2 separate regions of the Homo sapiens genome follow, and region 2 is linked to region 1. Evidence: promoter capture Hi-C in human tissues and cell types (Jung and others, 2019). All regions are on one chromosome and are shown on one strand. Each heading gives the region's core, a stretch centred on a gene start or on the middle of the fragment in contact. The rest is flanking DNA. Distances are from core to core; before and after follow the strand shown.

Region 1 (4,325 bases), core at 1,696-4,195:
GAAGCCCTCTGGTGAAAACATGTTATACATTTAATAGTAACATTTCACTAAGTGGCTTTGGTATCTTTATTTGGAGTTCACTGGTAAGACTGAATGTTGTTAGCAACATTTCTTAAAACCTGAAAGTTTAATGCTCAACCTGCACTCAATAATTTCAAAAAAATTAAGTAATTTTTACCTTAATATTTGATATAATTTTTAAAATCTGATCTTACTGCATGTATTAACATAGTTACTGATATATAAAATGAAATTACATATATACTCAAAGTGGTAACTGAAATATTTTGAATACCTTGCTTAAAACAGAAATTTCTTTTTCTTCTGCCAGAAAGTTGGCTAGAAAAGCAGATCTGTGAAAATTCTGTTGAATTTTACTAAATCCATAAAGGTTGAGCTGTCAAATTAAGATTTTCATACTGTCAGTTTGAAATATTCTGTAAGGAGCCTTTATTTCCAAATTTTCTTTCTTGAAGAGTTCTTCATTAGTCACTATGCAAGTTTCATTCTTATCCTATGAATTAGACTTGAATTGGTCACTTTCAGCTATTTTCCAAAGTTTACTGGGAAAGGTCAGAGAAGGAAAATCATTATCTTTATCTGGCTCAGAGACATAAAGTATAATGTGGCCTTTTTATCAAGGATCCTTGTGGCAAAACCTGAAAATCATTGATTCAGTCATTGACCTTAAGTCTGAATCCCCAGGGATTATGTGTTCACACAATGGAGACCCAGAGGAGGCTTTTGAACCAGTTGATTCATCTTTAGGAGAAACATCTTGAGTTTCTGCAGAAACATGTGCCATCTCAAATAAGTAATTCTTTAGCGACTTTTCCAGCCTGCATGTGTTTCAAGACTGCAGCTTCAAATGCTGCTTCAGTAGTCTACTCAGGTAAAGTAATTGAGATCACCACAGTGGTTTCCAACCTGAGTAGCAATGGCATCACAAGAGGACTTTGGTCACCTAGCAACAAACATAAAAATTTGGCCAAGACTGTTTACTTTCCAGTCTCAGAAATGTATCTGGTAAAAATAAAATATAGAATGATTACTTACACAGTTTATTCTGCAAAAGTTTCATGCCTGCAGAATCTTTTAAATTAATAAGGAGGGCCAGGCATGGTGGCTCATGCCTGCAATCCCAGCGCTTTGGGAGGCCGGGACAGGCGGATCATGAGGTCATGAGTTCGAGACCAGCCTGACCACCATGGTGACACCCTGTCTCTACTAAAAATACAAAAATTAGCCAGGTGTGGTCCATGTGCCTGTAGTCCCAGGTCTCGGGAGGCTGAGGCAGAAGAATCGTTTGAACCCAGGAGGCGGAAGCTGCAGTGAGCTGAGATTGTGCCACTGCACTCCAGCCTGGGCAACAGAGCAAGACTCTGTCTTAAGAAAATAATAAATAAATAAATAAATAAATAAATAAATAAATTAATTAATATCCTCAATCCCTGAAATAAACATAATTTTCTCCTTGACACACACAGTCTTACTAGATTGGTGCGAGGAGCATAGGGCCTGGTAATTGGACGGTGCAAAAAAATAAAAATAAATATTTTAAAAACTCTCTCAGCTTGGCATGTTGGATTGAAAACTGATGCAGTGTAAAACATATATGGTAAAAAGACATGGCCATATAGACAAAAGGTAGGTTAATGGTTGTCAGGGGCTGGGGAATAGAAAGAACTGTTAAGTAGATAATGGGGTTTCCTGTTTGATGATAGAAATGTTTTAATAATATAATTTTGAATAATGTAATTTTGTATTATGTGAAACATACCTTAAAAAATTAAAATAAAATCAAATATGAATAAAACTGATTAGATTTCAGAATAAAAAGTTATTCATGTATGTATCTATTCAAAACATTTTTTATTCATATCATAGAATAAATAATACTTTCATTTGGTATGTCTGTAAATATCTGACATGTTAATTATGTAAGATTTTAAAAGCAAGTGACCTACTTATAAGGAGATCCCAAAGAGTGGGAGATTTAAAAATGTAATAATAACAAGAAAGTGTTTTAAGTAAAGTAAATTTGTATGTATGTCTAAGCAGAAAATTTTATTATTTGGTTCCAAGAGCCAAATATCTATTTAAAAAATATTTCTTAAGGAATAATCTCTGTGTCCTGCAACGTAAAGTTATCATTATAAAACAGGAGTCAAATTTGTGAATTAATCTTAGAATTGAATAAAATATTTCTTCTCTTTGAAAAATAATCATGCCCCATTTACAGTAAGAATTTTTATATGTTCATGCTTGAGAGGTGGTATATTAAAATTCTAATGCCTTGGCTTTAAGTGTTGAATATGTGTGGAATAAAAAAATAATGATTTTGATATTTCTTATACTGTAGGAGGCAGTTCTCTCATACTGGAAAGAGGTGTCATTGTTAGAAGCTTGTCTTGGTTTAACATAGTTTAAGTTTTGGGGGTGTATTTTGTTTAGTTCAAAATTTTCCATATTAGCAGTAAGTAACAAAAATGTCCAGATCAGAAAACTCTTTGTGAAAATAAAACAGGTGCTCCTACCAGATGTGGTTCATCAATTTTGACAGAATTTTCATTTAAAAAAGGCAAAATTAAAATTTGTTTAATTGTTTGCTTTCTGGGGAATTTTCTTGTTGCTCTGTCTGAAGGAAGTACAGACTTCTTTTGTGATGGGAGGGGATGAATGGCTACTAGACAGCAGCAAAAGATGGGCCATGGGTGCGAAGAGAAGAGGGAGTTAATGGGAGAATCAGAAAAATATCACCTTAAATGTAGGACAATCGAAGTCAAATTGTGGCTGAGCGTTTTGGGGAACTAAGATGTGTGACTCTGTAGGGAGGAAGAATGCCTTGGTGTTTTCAAGGGAAGATGACTCAGCTAGTGCAGTCACCTGACTCCAAACTGCAAGCCTACTTTAGTCATAAAAAGGCAAGAAAATAAGCAATTTTACCTGCAAAGCAAAGGACGTAGTGTTGAAAACGAGACCAGAAATGGTGCTGTTAAAGAGGTGAACAAAAGCATTTACTTTTTGAACGAGTTTCAAAACTGTGAGGGTGGCAAATAGGCAAGGTAAGTAGGAGCAGCCCTCGACCATCTCAGATCAGCTTCTTCAGCCTACCTTGACCTCTGCCTGTCTCAGCTGGGGATCTTAACATAAATCTCTGGATATCAGGGGTGGCTTTTCCCGAGTCTTGAGCCTAGAAACTCCCTCTCTTGATTCTGATTTTCAGAGAAGAGAAGCAGCTGCTTAGCATTTGGGTGGGACAGTGGTTGTTACTAATATATTACAAATTTCAGCATGTTTTTAAACATCAGAAGGAGAAAGTGCTTCGTATTTAAGTGAAATCTCAAAGGGGCAGAAATCTACCATATTTTTTGTTATTCAGATGCAGTGATGCACTGGCTATGTGAGTACAAGAAACAAGTTCACTTAATCACAAACACATGCCTAAATTCCATTGTTCAGTGACTTCACTTTCACTTTCTACCTTGAATTTTAGACTCTGGAAGACCCATTTCTAAACTCTGTGGCCCTTTTCATATGTGCATATTTTCATAAGTGTTTTCCAGAAATAAATTATAGAGGTCCTTCTGTGAGTCCAAAGGAGAAGGAAGTGGTTGGGGCAGCCAGAAAGGTGCAATCTGCATTAATATCATATTCGATGTATGGATTGCTGGGGAGAGAGTGGGATATATTTCTTATAATGTTGGATGTATTTTTCCCCTATCCTGAGGCCCAGAAACTCTGATGTCTCTGCAGTTGTCTTTCCATGCTTTCCTTTATACCCCTCGCCTACTTCTGTAATTTCTCTCTCTACTCTCCCTCCTCCTTCCCACCCTTTTTCTTTCCATTTGTGCTCTCTCCCTCCATTCCTTCTTTTTCCCTTTTCTTTCTTTTTGTGGGTATCTGGTAGCTGCAACTTATTTTCTTTCTGCTTTTCTTACTCACTTACTCTATTTACTAGGTATTTAACAATTGTCTTTAAAAGTAACATCCTTTCTTTCTTAAAATTTTATCCCTAATGGACATTATTTGGGGAAAAACATTTTTATGGTGCCTCTAGATAAGTAATTATATCATCTGCACATGATTCCCGTATTTTCTTACATGCCCGTTCCTCGTAGGTGGAAATGGGTACTTCATTGTACTCTTCTCTCTTTATTTACAAGAGTGTTTTTTCTGTCTCATCCCTTTAAATAACACATTGTCTCTCTTTTTGTGACATTGAATTAATTAGGTCAGATGCGATTTTTCTCATCTATTCATTTGAAGACTGTTTCATATTGCTTCTAGGGCCTATTTGCAAGCAACAAATTATTTTGTTGTTG
Region 2 (4,762 bases), core at 1,700-4,199, 110 kb before region 1:
TTTACTCAGCCAGTGTGCTCAGTACAGCCTGGCTCTTCAGGGAGGGCTTCTTATAAATGATTGATTATGTAGATGTTTGTTTTTATGTTTCCAACCTCAGGTACCAGACGTGATATCCAGATGACCCAGTCTCCATCCTCCCTGTCTGCATCTGTAGGAGACAGAGTCACTATCACTTGCCAGGTGAGTCACAGCATTAGTAATAAATTAGTCTGGTATCAGCAGAAACCAGGGAAAGCCCCTACTCTCCTAATTCATGCTGCAACAAAACTGCAGACGGGGGTCCCATCCTGGTTCAGTAGCAGTCAATCTGGGACAGATTTCACTCTCACCATCAGCAGCCTGCAGCCTGCAGCGTGATGATTTGGCCACTTATTACTATCAACAGCATTACAGTTACCCTCCTACTGTGTTGCAAGTGATAACATAAACCACACAGGGAAGCAGATGTGTGAGGCTGGGCTGCCCCTGCTGCTCCTCCTGGTGCCCTCATCTGCTGAGAGCAATTCTCAAATTGCAGTCAAACTTTGAAGGTCATTGGAAAGTTTTGGTAGAAGGGTCTATGAAGTCTCCTGTATACCTTAACAGTCTTTCCTTCTCCTCATCCCCAGTAGCACAGACATGGCAATGTCTCTCCTGATTTCATTAAGAAGTGATTATTACACCTGAGGAGTCTGAGTTATGGTGTCAGTTGTAATTAATATCTCAAAGAATAAGCCACTCTTGAAATTCCAAGTAGGATTATTTTTCTAAATATAGGGAATGAGAGTCTAAACAACAGCTTTTAAAAGGCTTGGGGGCATAGTAGTCAAAGATGCAAATACTACAAGAGAAAGATTATTTGGATCTCCTCAAGAATCCAGAGTGCATCTTCCACAGAAGGTGTAATTGCCAATCGTGTGGTCTTCAGACATTTCTGGGAAGCCCAGGTTCAGGGCTGCTGATGCTCTGCTTGGAGGGCCTGCCTGAATTCTGTAGCATTTGCTTACAAGTGAACAGCCAGCATCTTATTCCAGAGGGAACTAGCACATGCAGATGATCCAGATTTAACAACCACACCTTTTCTTTATGGACGTTGCCCTCTTTGACTTTTCCCGCAGCCTTTTTCATTCACTGTACTTCTGCTGACCCCTCATGGCCATGTCTGTGCCTCCCTGCTGTCTCTGAAGCTGGGGAAGCAGCTCTGCTTGCACATGTGGCAGATCTCAGGGCCTGAAATGTGCATCACCTAGAACAGCCCTCAATCAGTGAGAACAGGTGACGTGTATAAATACCCCAACTCCCTCACCTCTCAGGTGGAATAGCCCAGAGGCATTCTCTTATGTTTCCATGTGGGCTTCAGCTCTTGTGGTCCTCATGGGTAGCTGCTGGCTGACAGGCCTTTCACTGTCCATCATCTCTTCCCTGCCTCACTTTCTGCCTTCAGTCTCAGGGTTTCCTGCAGCTTGTAATTATGGTGCTCACATGGGAATCCTTGTCGTTAGAAACCCAACCTAAGACTATAGGCAAATCCTCATTAGTGGAGGTGTCATCAAATTGTTGATACTTCTCCTCTTATAATGGATAGAGAAATTTAGAAAATGTCTAAAACATTTAATTTGTTTTATCAGTCTCTCATAGATTCTGATTAAATAGCAATTCCTTTCTTCTGGGTCACAACATCAGAGGAGCCCCTAACAAATAGCTCCACACTATGAGGTCCACATTAGAGCAGCAGGAGAAGAATCTTCCAGCCCAGGAAACACCCAGACCAGAGGGCCCTGACTCAGATCCCTTCAGCTCTCTTGCTTTATAAAGCTGCTGGCTGCTCCCTGTTCTCCCTTCTCCCAGCCGTGAGGCTTTGGATTCTTCTTTAAGGAAGGCAGCTGGCAGACAATTAGGGGGTTTGGTAGTCTGAGTAAATTACTATCCCCCCATGAAAAGATGTTCACCTTCTACCCTCTGGAACCATAAAATTAGCCTTATATGGCAAAAGGAACTTAAAATCAGCCCCTTCTGCAGTTTCTTCTGCAAAAATGCAACTTTCTCAAAGACTTTAAATCTCTGAACAGCTTTATTTCAGACTTGGGGGAAGGGTCACATCTTTCCTTGCCCTGAGCCTTCCTCCTCTCTTCCATTAGTTTCCATCTCTGACTCCAGCCTTCCCTCTTTCTTCCTAATTAGATTGTGTCCTGCAAATCTAATTTGTCCTCCTACTAGGAAATCCCACCCTCCTCAGGAGTAATGAGATCTGACCCCTAGGCTCTCAGACACCTGCAGTGTACAAAACTCAATCTAGGGGTTTACCCAGGAGATTTTCTCCCTACGTGGAATTCTGGTGCTAGCTCTCCTTATAGTAAACTGTGCTCTGTCTCTTGTCCAAATTGAAACCAAAGGCTAACAAGTTGGAAAAGGCTGAGAGATCAGAGAGAAACATCTTCTCAGAGAGGCAAATGCCATTCTTTCACCTTGTGTGAGTTTCCTATAGCAGCTGTAACAAATCACTATGTCATTACTGGCTTCAAATAGCATAGAATCATTCTTTCACAATTCTGGAAGAGAGAAATCTCACACAGGTGTCTTTGGGCTAAAATCAAGCTTCCCTGTGGGAAAGAGTTTGTTTTCTTGCCTTTTCCATCTTCTAGAGGCTGCTGTCTTTCCTTGGCCATGGCCTTTCCCTCACATCACTCAGCTTCTTCATAGTCACATCTCCTCTCCAAATCTGACCCTCCTTCCTCCCTCTTATGCAGACAATTATGATTACATGGGGTCCAAAAATACTCCAAGATAGTATTCAGTTCTCAAGATCCTTCATCACATTTGCCAAGTTTTTCTACCATAAAATTCCCCACCAATCCATTTATGTATAGAGTTGATAGTTAAACAAGAAGATCGGAAATGGCCATTGCATCTTTAGTCTGGATTTTCCCTGAGCACTTTTTGTGTTATTTTTCTAGGGCTGCTGTAACAAATTGCCAAACATTTAGTGGCATAAAAATAGAACATCCAGAGGCCTCTCTGCAGACATCTGGCTGGCTCTGGGGTGACCCCTGTCCCAGCCTCTGGAGTGGAACCCTGGGAATGGGGCAGCATCACTGGCCCTGCTCAGTCCAGCCTCAGCCACCATGGGACCCGAGGCATCTACGTCACCCCCACCACTTCCTGGCAGCCACAGGTGGAGTGAGCCTGCCTGCCCTGGGAGACTCCTGGAGAGGGGCTCTGCTTAAGGTCATCAGGCCTTGACTCCAAGGAAATCTGTGCTTATTTAAATCTTGGGATGTGCAACCTGTTTATACAGAGCCATGACAGGAATGACCTGCCCATCCACACTCCCCTTGCCCTTAGGTCTAGAAGCAGCAGGTTCCCTGGACACTCCAAGATGCTCTTCCTGGCCCTGCTCCTCTGCCTCTTGGTGATGGGCTTTCAGGGTGAGTGCATTTCCCACTGCAGACCATGCAGGGGCTTTAGCCCTTGACATGGGGATAATGAGCTCAAATGTGCTTTGGAAATTATAGTGTAACATATAGAAGTGATTTGCCTTAACTCTCATTAGGAAACTGAGGCACAGAGTCCAGGGCTAACCAGGAGGCAGAGGTGCATACAGCCCTGAACCTGTTCCCAGCCTCCCTGAGGACCATGGATCCTCTGTCCCTGCTCACACCCCATGTCCACCTCTCTTCAGAGCTCACTGTGGTTCTGGTCAGGCTGTGAAGAATGGACCTGACCATTAGCCCCTCAGGGTGGGCTCTACCATGCTTGTATCCCCTTTCATAGGTGCCCTTGTCCTGAGAACCCCTCCCCAGCCAATTCTATCTTGATTCTGATCAAATGCAAAGATGTGAGGGCCCAGGAGTACTAATTTCTGTCATGTTTAAGCATGACAGGGTCTTCTAAGGAACAGGACAGGTTTCTAGAAATCCTTTGAGAGAAGTAATGCATTGTGCTCCTGAATAGGGTGTCCTTGCAGGATGCAGGGGACAGACTATCTCAACTCCATCTCCGGAGACCTTAGCAGCATCTGGAGGTGACTTTGTCTCTATCACCTGCAGAAACAGCACAGATGTAGGCACCTCCATCACCTAGGACAAGCAGAGATCCCAGGAGGCTTCCAGTCTGCTGCTCTTTGGGGCTTCTTCCCAGGCTGCTGGAACCGCTTCCAGTTTCCAGGGAAGTTTCTGGTTTTTGCTTCTCCCTCTCCATCCATGGAGTGAAAGCTGAAGATGCTGGAGTGTTTTCCTGCCAGCAGCCCTTCAGTTGGCTTCTTACAGTGAAAAGTCCCCAACCAAAAATACCCTTTCTGGATGGAAGATTCTGCCCTGATGCAAAGACACTTGCTTCCTGCAGAAGCCATAATCTGAGAGTGTGAAGCGTTCATATTATAGTTGTCTTTGTTCTCAGAGTCTGTGATTTCTGGCCTGTTGATACAGGGGAAGATTGAAGAGTTATTACTTCAAGTTTACACCTGATCTACAAAGAGGGAGAGGCAAAGGGTTGTGAAGCTAAGGTGTTTCCTAGACAGGTGCTTTACCTGGATTGATATATTAATTTTTCCATTTTCTTGCAGCATATAAGAGCACTCCAAAACTTAAAGGAGTGAAACAACAATTTATTATTTGTTGTGATTCTATGGGTTGGTTGGGAGGTTTTTCTGCTGCCTGGCCTGGGCTTTCTCATGCAGCTGCCGTCAGCTGAATGGTTTTTATGTGTCGTGAACTGAACTAACTCTTTTTATGACAAGTATGTTTTATTCTCATCTTCAGCTGACAATACTGAGGCAGGGAGA

What was found. Contacts are between HindIII fragments. The study calls those that stand out against the background at their distance.
Region 2: a fragment that was not itself captured here is called in contact with the fragment with the promoter of XKR3 in region 1 in 2 of the 25 tissues and cell types used here (H1 embryonic stem cells and spleen).

Annotation. Positions count from the first base shown.
Region 1 is chr22:16,824,031-16,828,355 of GRCh38, reverse strand. It overlaps XKR3 (XK related 3), which reads left to right and starts at 2,945. Exons shown (of 4, transcript NM_001386955.1): 1 at 2,945-3,065. It also overlaps the pseudogene HSFY1P1. The HindIII fragment of the contact is 14,808 bases long and covers 239-4,325 here.
Region 2 is chr22:16,929,164-16,933,925 of GRCh38, reverse strand. It overlaps the pseudogene IGKV1OR22-1. Among named protein-coding and RNA genes, the nearest start is that of GAB4, 77 kb to the left of the region's middle. RefSeq lists an enhancer at 1-974. The HindIII fragment of the contact is 8,642 bases long and covers 1-4,762 here.